2 separate regions of the Homo sapiens genome follow, and region 1 is linked to region 2. Evidence: promoter capture Hi-C in human tissues and cell types (Jung and others, 2019). All regions are on one chromosome and are shown on one strand. Each heading gives the region's core, a stretch centred on a gene start or on the middle of the fragment in contact. The rest is flanking DNA. Distances are from core to core; before and after follow the strand shown.

The links. Contacts are between HindIII fragments. The study calls those that stand out against the background at their distance.
Region 1: a contact is called between a fragment that was not itself captured here and the fragment with the promoter of PLK1 in region 2, in 1 of the 25 tissues and cell types used here (dorsolateral prefrontal cortex).

Annotation. Positions count from the first base shown.
Region 1 is chr16:24,526,508-24,529,881 of GRCh38, forward strand. No RefSeq gene overlaps it. Among named protein-coding and RNA genes, the nearest start is that of RBBP6, 11 kb to the right of the region's middle. The HindIII fragment of the contact is 3,801 bases long and covers 1-3,374 here.
Region 2 is chr16:23,677,225-23,680,641 of GRCh38, forward strand. It overlaps PLK1 (polo like kinase 1), which reads left to right and starts at 1,665. Exons shown (of 10, transcript NM_005030.6): 1 at 1,665-2,116; 2 at 2,860-3,028. The coding sequence starts at 1,709. It overlaps DCTN5 (dynactin subunit 5), which reads left to right. Exons shown (of 6, transcript NM_032486.4): 6 at 1-248. The HindIII fragment of the contact is 4,791 bases long and covers 1-2,301 here.

The DNA of each region.
Region 1 (3,374 bases), core at 633-3,132, 850 kb after region 2:
GGGTGGAATGAAGCTAGAGGACATGAGATAATGGAAGGTCACTGATGGCATACCTCACTCCAGGCCCCCACATCACCTGAAGTCTGATGGCCAAGTCCCTGGTCTGATCCTAATGCAAGGAAACTAGAACCAACTTATTAAAGCAGAAGGAAAAAATGGGTTTTATTTGTGGTTATGGCATTAAGTGAAAAAACAGCTAATGCTGCTGGGCACAGTGGCTCAGGCCTGGAATCCCAGCACTTTGGGAAGCAGAGGTAGGAGGATCACTTGAGCCCAGGAGTTTGAGACCAGCCTGGGCAATATAGTGAGACCCCACCCGTACAAAAAATTTAAAAATTAGCCAGGAGTGGTGGCACGTGCCTGTGGTCCCAGCTACACAGGAGGCTGAGGCAGAAGGATCGCTTGAGCCGAGGAGGTTGAGGCTGCAGAAAGCTGTGGTTGTGCCACTGCACTCCATCCTGGGCAACACAGCAAGACCCTGTCTCAAAAAACAAACACACACACACACACACACACACACACACACAAACACCACCAGCTAATGCCATAACCGTAAATAACTAGATCAGCCAAATTTAATCTGGATTAATCTAATCAGAGTAATCTAATCTTAACTAGATTTAGGGAGCTAGCCTAATTATTGTTTCTTTGAAAGGAACTACATTTTTCTGTCTGAATGTTTATAAGATGCTTTGCTGGCAGTCGGTTCGTGGAGGGGGGGAGAGAAGGAAACTCAGGAAAACATAAATGAATTAATCATAATCCTAATGTCGTAACACCTCATCATCATTGCCCTAGGCATGACTCTCTGTTAGTTTAATTATTTTTTCTTTATTTATTTATAGTAAAATAATGAACACTTGTGAACTCACTCACTCACCCAAGAACAACATCATTACCAACAACTCACATCTCTGGGAGGGGACATGGAGGGATCGGATGGTTTCCTCCTATCTCATCTTTCCATCTCAGAGGTAATCACCATCCTGAATTTTGTTTGTTTGGTGGGGGTTTGTTTGTTTGTTTGTTTTTGAGACATAGTTTCGCTCTTGTTGCCCGGGCTGGAGTGCAGTGGCACGATCTCAGCTCACCACAACCTCTGCCTCCTGGGGGGTTAAATGATTCTCCTGCCTCAGCCTCCCAAGTAGCTGGGATTGCAGGCATGTGCCACCATGCCCAGCTAATTTTGTATTTTTAGTAGAGACGGGGTTTCTCCATGTTGGTCAGGCTGGTCTTGAACTCCCGACCTCAGGTGATCTGCCCGCTTCGGCTTCCCAAACTGCTGGGATTACAGGCATGAGCCACCGCGCCCGGCCTTTTTTTTTTTTTTTTTTTTTTTGATACAGAGTCTCACTCTGCCACCCAGGCTGGAGTGCAGTGGTGCGATCTCAGCTCACTGCAGCCTCTGCCTTCCGGGTTCAAGTGATTCTCCTGCCTCATCCTCCGGAGTAGCTAGGATTACAGGCAAGCACCACCACACCCCACTGATTTTTGTATTTTCAGTAGAGACAGGGTTTCACTATTTTGGCCAGGCTGGTCTCGAACTCCTGACCTCTAGAGATTCGCCTGCCTCAGCCTCCCAAAGTGCTGGGATTACAGGTGTGAGCCACCATGCCCAGCCCCTGAATTTTGTGTTGTTTAGTCACCCTTTTAAAAGAAGTATTAAGGTCTAAGTGCCATGGCTCTTGCTTGTAATCCCAGCACTTCCAGAAGCCAAGACAGGAGGATCCCCTGAGGCCAGGAGTTCAAGACCATTCTGGGCAACGTAGTGGGACCCTGTCTCTAAAAAAAAAAAAAAAAAAAAAAAAAATTAGTTAACTGAGTGGGTCCTAGCTACTCAGGAGGCTGAGTCAGGAAGATTGTTTGAACCCAGGGCAACAGAGCGAGACTCTGTCTCTAAAAAAAAAAAAAATTAAATTAAAAAGAGGTATGCCTAGCTAAATAATGTATTGCTCAGTTTTATGCGTCTTTGAAATTCATTAAAAAGTTATGTCATCTTTGGATACTTGCTTTGTGGACCCAGATGAGCTAAAAAGATTTCACCACCATATTATTACATGTAGCTATATTTCATTTATTTCACTGCTGTATGATATCCCATTATCTGGATAGACCACAACAACAATCTTTTCTTGTTGATGGGTGTTTGGGTTGTTTCCAGCTTTTTTTTTTTTTTTTTTTTTTGAGACTAGGTATCACTCTGGCACCCAGACTAGAGTGCAGTGGGATTATCATAGTTCACTGCACCTTCAGCCTTCTGGGCTCCAGCAATCATCCCACTGCAGCCTCACAAATAACTGGGACTACAGGTGAGCACCACCACGCCTGGCTAATTTTTGCATTTTTTGTAGAGATAGGATTTCACCATGTTGCCCAAACTAATGTAGAACTCCTGAGCTCAAGTAATCCTCCTCCTGCCTTGGCATCCCAAAGTGCTGGGATTACAGTTACAGGCACGAGCTACCATGCCCAGCCTTTTTTTTTTTTTTTGAGACAGGGTCTCCCTCTGGGCACCCAGGCTGGAGTGCAGTGGTGGCCTCCCGGGCTCACGCAATCCTCCTGCATCAGCCTCCTGAGTAGCTGGGACTATAGGTATGTGTCACCATGCCAAGCTTTCCAGATTTTTGTCTTAAAAAGACAGCTTCCATGAATTCTTGTGCAAGTATAGTTAAATTTTACCTCGGGTATAGAATCAAGAATAGAATTACTGATTCATAGGGTAAAGGAATGCTCAAAGTTGCTAGAATTAAATTTTACCATGGGTATATAAGCAAGAATGAAATTACATAGAGTATAGGAGTGTTCAAATTTGCTAGAAAATGCCAAATTGTTTCCCAAAGTGATCGTTCCAATATATATCCCATCACTGGGATACATCCCCCACCAGTGATGGAATGTATATTGGAATAATCACTTTGGGAAACAATTGGTCTGGTCTCCAACTCTCACACATGGTATTGTCAAACTTTTAAATTTTTCAAATTGAATGAGTTTTGAATTAAATGAATAGTGGGAAAACAATGGATTTCTCACATCAATTTTCGGAAAATCTATTCATATGATGACTTAATTTATTACTTTACATTTCTACAAATTGAATTTTTTTTTTCTTTTAGGAGACAGGGTCTCATTTAGGCCTGGCGCAGTGACTCACGCCTGTAATCCCAGCACTTTGGGAGGCCAAGCAGGCAGAGCACTTGAGGTCAGGAGTTGGAGACCAGCCTGGCCAACACAGTGAAACCCCATGTCTACTAAAAATATAAAAATTAGCTTGGCGTGGTGGTTCATGCATGTAATCCCAGCTACTCAGGAGGCTGAGGCAGAAGAATTGCTTGAACCTGGGAAGCAGAGGTTGCAGTGAGCCAAGATCACGC
Region 2 (3,417 bases), core at 415-2,914:
GAGTCTGTGAATCTCCTAGTACATCATCAGACTAGGAGGTGGTGGTGTTGGCACCCCCCAGCACAGGGCACAAGGGAGACTTGCAGGGTGTTTGTCATGTTCCCTTTCTCAATCTGGGTGTGGTTTACAGATTTGTTCAGTTTGTGAAAATTCACTGAGCTCTATGAACAATTATAATATGTACATTTTTTTCTGTAAGTGTATTAAATTTCAATAAAAAGAATTCACACTATAGGGGTACAAAATAACTTAATTTTTCAAAGTCTTCCTTTTATTCAGCCAACATTTTAGTAAGTACCCTTTTTTTTTTACCAAGCACTGCTCTGGGAGCTTGGGACATGGGGTAGAAAGGACGGCATCATTGTCCTCATTGTCCTTCAGCTTAGCTGCAAGGCAGGTGAAGGATGCTTATAGTATGGTTGATTTTTGCTGGGCTCTATGAAGGATCAGAGGGTGCTAAGGAGGCACAGAGAAAGAGCTTTTAACGTGGGTATTTTACTGTTCCAGGGTTGCCACTCAAGTACCTACAGAACAAACGGGTGTAGCTGTAAACTGTGGCAAACTGAAAGCATGTAGGCACAGAGTAAGTAGCTAGAGCTGATTTTTTTCAGGAAAGGCCACAAATCCCAACTTTTATGAGCTCCTCTTTTAAATGCTGTAAATGTTTTACAATGGCGGGGCGCGGTGGCTCACGCCTGTAATCCCAGCATTTGGGAGGCCGAGGGGCAGATCACTTGAGGTCAGGAGTTCAAGACCAGCCTGGCCAACATGGTGAAACCTCTTCTCTACTAAAATTACAAAAATTAGCCGGGCATGGTGGTGCATGCTTGTAATTCCAGCTGCTAGGGAGGCCGAGGCGGGAGGATTGCTTGAACCCGGGAAGCAGAGGTTGCAGTGAGCTGAGATCGTGCCACTGCACTCCAGCCTGGGCGACAGAGCAAGATTCCGTCACACACACAAAAAAAAGGCGTGGGGGGAGGCCAAACAAAACCCCGCAAGACACATTTGGCTATGACCTGCCAGTTTGCTAGGCATTCTTCCAACCTTCCCTCCCTCTGACCAAGAAACTGAGTGTCCACTATTTTAGGCCCTGGGAAATTCAGTAGCGAGGAGGCCAGACAGCTTCGTTGCATCATGGGGGGCTCTGGTACTGTGCTTCTCCAACTTCAGGATGTGTAGGAATCACCTGAGCAGTCTTGTTGAGAGGCGGACACTGACTCGGGAGGTCTGGGGTAGGGCCTGAACGTTTGCCTTTGCGGTTCTAACAAGCTCTCAGGTGATGGCGATGCTACTGTTCCCTGGCCCCGAGGTAGAGGAAGATTTAAGTAAAAGCTTCCTGGAGGAGGCGCAAGTGAACCGCAGGAGCTTTCCCGGACGCCCGAGAAAGGGAGAAACCCCGAAGGAATTCCTCCTCTCTCGGGGCTGGGTCTCCGCATCCACGCCGGGTTTGGTTTCCCAGGCTATCCCACGTGTTCGGGCGTCCGTGTCAATCAGGTTTTCCCCGGCTGGGTCCGGGTTTAAAGGCTGCTGCTGCGCAGGGCGCTCCCATGGTGCCGCGCGGCGGGCGGGTTTGGATTTTAAATCCCCGCGGCCAATCAGTGGCGCGCAGGCTTTTGTAACGTTCCCAGCGCCGCGTTTGAATTCGGGGAGGAGCGGAGCGGTGCGGAGGCTCTGCTCGGATCGAGGTCTGCAGCGCAGCTTCGGGAGCATGAGTGCTGCAGTGACTGCAGGGAAGCTGGCACGGGCACCGGCCGACCCTGGGAAAGCCGGGGTCCCCGGAGTTGCAGCTCCCGGAGCTCCGGCGGCGGCTCCACCGGCGAAAGAGATCCCGGAGGTCCTAGTGGACCCACGCAGCCGGCGGCGCTATGTGCGGGGCCGCTTTTTGGGCAAGGGCGGCTTTGCCAAGTGCTTCGAGATCTCGGACGCGGACACCAAGGAGGTGTTCGCGGGCAAGATTGTGCCTAAGTCTCTGCTGCTCAAGCCGCACCAGAGGGAGAAGATGTCCATGGAAATATCCATTCACCGCAGCCTCGCCCACCAGCACGTCGTAGGATTCCACGGCTTTTTCGAGGACAACGACTTCGTGTTCGTGGTGTTGGAGCTCTGCCGCCGGAGGGTGAGTGTCGCTGCTGGGGAACTGGAACTGCCTGCGGGGCAGTTGGAGCGCCCAGACCTGGAGCTGCTGGAAAGAGTACCCAGCAAGGGAGAGCCTGGGACTTGGAGCTGCTAGAGAAGGGTGCTGGGAGCCTCCCGCTTACGTATGGAAAGTGTCTTTGGTAAGGGCTTCTTGGCTCTGGGAGCTGCTAGAGGAGGGGGTTCCAGTGAAGTGGAGTCTGAGTCATGTTGCTGATAGGGAAGTCAGCTTCTGGACGCGAGGTGCTGGGGGGAGGGGTGCTGGTAATGGACGCTAGGGCCCTGGAGTACCCAGGGAGGAGTCCCAGGTTAGTGATGCCGCGCCCTGGGAGCTTCTGGGGTGGAGCTGGGTCAGTGGGGGGGTAGTTGGAGCCAGACTTCGGGCCTTCCGGGGGAGATACGAGTCAGGAAAGGGATCTGGTGCTGGGGACTCGGAGCTTCCGGAGTGGGGCTGAGAGAGGACCCCCAGGTAAGGGGGGAAGCTAGTAGGAGAAGGGGTGCTGCGAATGGTTGTGGACAGTGTTAAGGCAGGGTCCAGATGCCGCTGTGCTGGAGAAGGAATGGGGTGGGGGCATAGGGAAGGAGAGAAACCCACCAAGACCCCTCTTTCATCCCTTGGGAGTCCAGAGTCCAGTCCTGTGCTTCCTTTGCCTGGTAACCCTCTCCCTTCCCCACCGGCCTCAATCCACCTCCCCATCCCTCCTGCCCTCTCCTTCCCACCCACAGTCTCTCCTGGAGCTGCACAAGAGGAGGAAAGCCCTGACTGAGCCTGAGGCCCGATACTACCTACGGCAAATTGTGCTTGGCTGCCAGTACCTGCACCGAAACCGAGTTATTCATCGAGACCTCAAGCTGGGCAACCTTTTCCTGAATGAAGATCTGGAGGTGAAAATAGGTGAGTTGCTGAGCCTGCAGGGGTGCTTGACATCACTACAAGAGGCTGGAATTTGGAGGAGGCTGGGAGAAAGGAAGGAGACAACCCACAAGTCAGTATCTTGCCTACAGATGCATTATTTTTTTGTGCCCCAATGCAATATTTTTTTTTTACAAAGAATTTGAATTTGTTTTTATTTTTTAAATTGGAAGGTTTGATTGAACAAAAAGTTTGATTCAGAACTCCTTTTAAACAGGTGAAAGCTTCAGTAATACGAGGACAGCATTTTCTTAGGGCAGCCCTTTGCTGGGCTGGAAAACAGCTGTCCCCTTCAGACTTCTTTGCCACAGTCTCTACTCCTCCCTATTCTTCACAGACTTGCCAAGTCTTGGAGGTTAACTTGCTTGATC